2 separate regions of the Homo sapiens genome follow, and region 2 is linked to region 1. Evidence: promoter capture Hi-C in 16 types of primary human blood cells and fetal thymus (Javierre and others, 2016). All regions are on one chromosome and are shown on one strand. Each heading gives the region's core, a stretch centred on a gene start or on the middle of the fragment in contact. The rest is flanking DNA. Distances are from core to core; before and after follow the strand shown.

The links. Contacts are between HindIII fragments. The CHiCAGO score rates a contact against its expected background, and 5 or more counts as called.
Region 2: a fragment that was not itself captured here is called in contact with the fragment with the promoter of MAGI1-AS1 in region 1 in 1 of 17 cell types (endothelial precursors); the score reaches 7.5 in endothelial precursors.

The regions. Positions count from the first base shown.
Region 1 is chr3:65,892,380-65,895,355 of GRCh38, forward strand. MAGI1-AS1 (MAGI1 antisense RNA 1) reads left to right here and starts at 1,437. Exons shown (of 3, transcript NR_046575.1): 1 at 1,437-1,538. All of the region lies in intron 1 of MAGI1 (membrane associated guanylate kinase, WW and PDZ domain containing 1), which reads right to left. All of the region lies in intron 2 of MAGI1-IT1 (MAGI1 intronic transcript 1), which reads right to left. The HindIII fragment of the contact is 9,353 bases long and covers 1-2,976 here.
Region 2 is chr3:66,135,444-66,138,419 of GRCh38, forward strand. It overlaps a transcript of SLC25A26 not described here. Among named protein-coding and RNA genes, the nearest start is that of SLC25A26, 84 kb to the right of the region's middle. The HindIII fragment of the contact is 241 bases long and covers 1,343-1,583 here.

The DNA of each region.
Region 1 (2,976 bases), core at 187-2,686:
GATGGACATAAAATAATAGCAGAATCAGATTTTGTTTAAGATAATAATAGCAGAATCAGATTTTATTAAGTGGCATACCAACATTTTATTAAGTGGCATACAAGGCATTCTTGTGTTTATTTTTTAGAAATTATCAAAACCTACCAAAGCAAATCTAAAGAACGTATATAAAAGAACTTACCTAAAACATTAAATTAATGTTAAGTATAATTATAACAGCAGCTAACATTTATGTATTAGGTGTTAACTGTTCAACTTTACACATTGTTTTAATGTCTCCCAAATCAGCCTAACAGTAAGACTTACCTGGGGCACTTAATCACAGAATCCCTGGAAATTCTAATTCTGTAGCTCTGGGATGGGTCCCATTATTTTAAAAAATGCATTACAATCATTCTTATGACCAAGCTAGGTTAGGAAACAGATTCTCATGGGCTCTTCTTTAACAATGACAGGAAATAGGAAACACTATTAGACCCATTTGACAACTGAAGAAACTGAGGCTTAGAGAGGTCACAAAGCCACCCAGGGTCAGAGGCAGAAACAAACAGAAATGTGAGCTCAGATTTGTAGCTTTTAGCCTGAAAGTAAAACTGCAATCATTGTTCCTTTCCCCAGGTAACACACCAGAGAAGGACACTAACAACCTCAATTTCAGGGACGATAAAAATTAAGTAACAATCCATTCTTCTCTTATTATCTCTCTCAGAGTATCTAAGAAGGCTACACTGGTAAAAGGCTACAGTGCAGTTTCTGGCACATAAGTTACTGAAAATAAGATTTCTTTCCTATCTCCCATCCTTCATCCCTTCTTCTCTACTGATGTCCTCTAATTGGAGTCATTAGTCCTCTTTCTACCAAGCAAAGCCAAAGGTTCCCAGACATATACAACCTCAGAAAAAAAAATGTGAAATAAATGGCAGATACTAACATCAGATTTACTATTCATTTTTCTTTTTTTTTTTCATTTCATGAAAATTACATTCAAACCGGTTTCTTGCCTGGAGAAAAGCACAAAACAAAATTTACATAACGCCTTTAAAAATCAAAACACAATTAACGTTAAGTTTCTTCATGCATTCTCAAAAATCCAACAATATAGTTTAATAGAAAATAATGACAAGCAACATTTATTGAGCGTATCAAGTATTAAATCACTAATTCTCATCAGAAGTCCAGAGGGAATTACGCGAGTCCCATTTACAATTAAGAAAACAGACACAAAGAAATTACAAATTTTGCCCCAGGTTACACAGTTACTAAGTGGTAAAGACAGTATGCAAAATTAGAAGAAGAACTACTATTTGAATTCATGATTTCTTTATTACAATTATCTACTGCTGCGTAATAAATCATCCCAAAATATAACGGCTTAAACTAACAACAATCATTTTATTATCTTTCACAATTTCTGTGAGTCAGGAATTTGTACAAAGCACAGCTGAAATGCTTGTCTCTGCTTCCTGATGTCTGAATCTTACACTGGGAAGACTGCAGGCAACTCAATGGCCCAGGGCTAGAATCATCTGAAACCTCAGGTGTGTTTCACCTCCCCTGGAACACTTGGATGTGGCCTCACCATTTGGCTCCTTGAGCTCCCCTGCAGCCTCCTAGCTGGTTTCCAAAGTCAAGTGTCCCAAAAGAACCAGGTAGAAGCTATACCACCTTTTATGACCCTATCTTGGAAGTCTCACAGCACTGCTCCACCATAATCACATGGCCACCCCTCCATACAAAAAGAAGGAACGAGACATCACTACCCGCCTCCCTATGGAAAGAATCTCAAAGTTGTAAGAACAGCATAATTTCTGCCACAACCCCTAAATAACAATCAATAATATCATCCCTACCTACTAGTGAGAAAATGGAAGTTCAGAAAGGCTATGTGATTGCCCAAGGTCACACAATAAATAATGGCACTAAGATGCCAACACAGGCCCTTGTGACTCCAAATCCTGTTCAATTTCCATTACATCATATTTATAAAACATTCCATCTAAACTGAGTTGTTCCTTGGTGAAAGCTAGGACACATCCATCTTTTAAAAATAATAATAAAGTGAACCATTCCACCAAAAATATGCTAAAAGGATATCCAAATATAAATTATCAAATTTGGAAAGGCAGCAAATGGAAATCCTAATCTAAAGCATTCTTAGTTTACCAGTGATGTCAAATGTTAGCATTTTCTTTGTTGTTGTAATTGAGGATTCGTGTAAGAAAAGAGAAATACAATACCAAGAGTATTCAGTAAGGATAGTCCTTGAAAAGACTAGCAACCACCTAGGACAGTGGTGCAAACCATCCAATTAAGTCTAAATAGGAGATACCCAGGCAACACAATGAAGCCAATGAGCTACAAACTCCATCTGATGCCAAAACTAAAAGGGGAGTTATCACTCATCACCATCAACTGCTTTTGAAAAGGCCAATCCCAGCTATGAGTGTCTCTTCTGGCATGGGAAATTTCATAACACATCTTTATTGCCGGCTGAGGCCACTTGCCTCATCCAGATTCACTGCCTTATGAAAATGTGCAATATGAATGTTTACCGTTGTCATGGAACCTTCACATGAGTTCAAAATAACACACACCCATCACTGTGGCATTTCCAAACAGGACTGAATGGTTGGAAACGGAGGTGCTAGCTAATGTTATTTATTAAAACAAATAAAAACGTCTCTTTTATTTTAGATATCTGTGATGTTCATGGAGGACTTGGCAATATGTGCATGGTTGGGCATAATCTGATAATAAATCCATCAGTCCTTTATTTTGCTACTGGTTAACTAAAATGCCAGACATAAAGGCAACTGTACTTCTTTAACAAATGTGTCTTCTTCTAAGTGGGCAGTGTCAGCACTTGTTCCCTAGACGGGTTCACAGCTAGTACAACACACAGAGTCCCCCATTCAAAACTTCAGCACCTCTTCTCCAGCCCCTATTCTCTCCACTCAATGTCTTAACCATGGGCAT
Region 2 (2,976 bases), core at 213-2,712, 240 kb after region 1:
TGGCAATATTTTAATGTGAACAATTGTTAATTGTGAACAATTGGCTGGGTACAGTGGCTCATGCCTGTATTCTAAGCACTTTGGGAGGCCAAGGCAGGTAGATTGCTTGAGCTCACGAGTTTGAGACCAGACTGGGCAACAAAGTGAGACCTATTCTTTACCAAAAATAAAAAATTAGGTGGGCATGGTGGCATGTACTTGTAATCTCAGCTACTTGGGAGGCTAAAGTGGGAGGATCTCTCTTGAGCCTGGGAGGTTGAGGCTTCAGTGAGCCCTGATGGCACCACTGCACTCCAGCCTGGGTAACAGAGCAAAACCCTGTCTCAATAAAAAAATAAAGTAAAAAGGTAAGTTTTACAGATCCAGTCTTAACATAAGTATAAGGCAAAATTTAAGACTTTGGAATAAATAAAAGAGATATTCTTTTGGAATATTCACATTGGATATTCTTTCAATGAAATACCTGTCTTTAGAGACCACGTAATCCTACAGGGATATACATCTTGGTCTTTGGCTAAGCTATTTTACAAGTCTGTTGAGATAGAAGTTAACTTGAAAAGTGTTTTACTATAGATTTCTGTATTGATCACAACAATTCAGAAATTGATGATAAAACTAATAGTAATGCAAATATTTCTTGTTCATAATCATGCAAGGAAATTCTGTCCTGCGGACAGTCAACTGATTTTCCTCTCTTATTGTGGAAATAAACAGTTTTGTGTCTACTTGCAAATTTATTTCAGTGTTCCCATCTATATATGTATCTGCTGTTGGACTTCTCCTTTGAATGAATGATAACATTTCGGTGGTTCACTCATTAGTAATGAGTTAAATAAAATGTATTCCAGATGTTCATTTTATGTCTATATGATAGTCATGATTTTACCTTTTTGGGAAAATTATCCTTTAACCTAAGATACACAAATGGCCAGTTTATAATTAAAAACTACTTATCACTCTCCATTGGCCTATAGATGAAGACATTGAAGTTTGGAGAAAAACAGGGTGAGCATGTAATAAATAGCTTAGCTGGATTTGAATCCATGTCTATTTCATTTCTAAAATGGTATTCTAACTCATTGCACTGTCTCGTCACTAAGAAATAACATTTTTGTATTTTAAAAGATGGCTTTTAGTTTCATGTTCCAGTTGATGCTTATATTTCCAAAACAATCATGGTAGTGAAATTTGATTTATACATTCTTTCACCTAAGCTCTGGCTTTCAGCCGCTAGGTTTCTCTCTTCTGCTTTGACTGGGATATTTCTCTTGGCTTTGCATCAAGTAGTACTGTGTTTTCAAAGCCTCCATGTCATTTACAGTATGCATTAAATTGTATACAAAGCTTTTCCCTTTCAGGACTTGTTAAGACCTTCTGTTTATTTCAAGAAGAAAGCCTCAGTGAGGTGCTATGTCCCTCTCATACTTGCTAGTCTCCCTTTCATAACAAAGAGAGAGCTTAACAAAGAGAGTTGGAGCTTCCTCAACAATAGTATATAAATTTTTGTTTTTATTTTGCTTACTTTATGGTTATCTCTTATTTATTGAAAATAATTCTGATTTGCATTTATGATAATAGCACAAAGCTTCTTTTAAAATAAAGTTCAGTTAAAAATCAGTTGAGATAAAGGAAATCATTAATTAAATAGCTTGACTAATAGATGTGAGCTCTTTCCTGCCACCTTTTCCACCATGTGAGGATGCCATGAGAAATCACCATCTATGGAACAGACCTTCACCAAACACCAAATCTACCTATGCTGTGATTTTCTTTCTTTTTTTTTTTTTTTTTTTTGAGATGGAGTTTTGCTCTTGTCGCCCGAGCTGGAGTGCAATGGCGCGATCTCAAACTCTGCTCACTGCAACCTCTGCCTCCCAGGTTCAAGCAATTCTTCTGCCTCAGCCTCCCGAGTAGCTGGGATTACAGGGGCCTGCCACCAGGCCTGGGTAATTTCTTGTATTTTTAGTAGAGACAGGGTTTCACCATGTTGGCCAAGATGGTCTCAAACTCCTGACCACAGGGGATCCACCATCCTTGGCCTCCCAAAGTGCTGGGATTACAGGCATGAACAACCACACCCAGCCCCACACTATGATCTTGAACATCCCAACCTGCAGAACTGTGAGAAAAAAAATTCTATAGTTTATGAATTACCTAGTTGGTGGTATTTTGTGAGACCAGCAGGAATGGCCTAAGACACTCATAGAGTCATTGTGAGAAGGGAATAAGATGCTCTGTGTGACTGTGAGCTTCCTGAGGTCAGAGTGTGTCTAACTCATCTTGTTATCCCCCAACTCCTAATACAGTTCCTAGCACCTAGGACTCCATAAGAGCTTGTTTTCTTCTTTCCTTTGCAAAGCTAGTTAGTATAGTCACATGAACATTTTCTTTTTTCTTTTTTTTGTTTTTTGAGACAGTGTCGCTCTGTCACCCAGGCTGGAGTGCAGTAGCCCAATCTTGGCTCTCTGCCACCTCTGCCTCCCAGGTTCAAGCGATTCTCCCACCTCAGCCTCCAGAGCAGCTGGGATTACAGGCGTGCATTACCACACCCAGCTAATTTTTGTATTTTTAGTAGAGACGGGGTTTCACTATGTTGGCCAGGTTGGTCTCGAACTCCTGACCTCAAGTGATCCACCCGCCTCAGCCTCCCAAAGTGCTGGGATTACAGGCATGAGCCACCATGATCGGCCCACATGAACATTTTCTATGGCATTATTAAACAGAGAGTATTGCATGTGAACACGTAAAATAAACATGGGCATTTATAATGTTTTATTTTTCCTATGGTGATCAAAGCTGTTCAATGTATACATCGTATACAATGTATACATCTGAAGTATGGAAATATGCAATGAAGGAAGAAAAAAATCATCCCACAAATCTCACCCCCCTTCAGACACATCACACTCCAGGGCAACCATTCTTAATTTGATAAATTTCTCTTTTTTTCTATAATTAAAAATATTATACACTTGA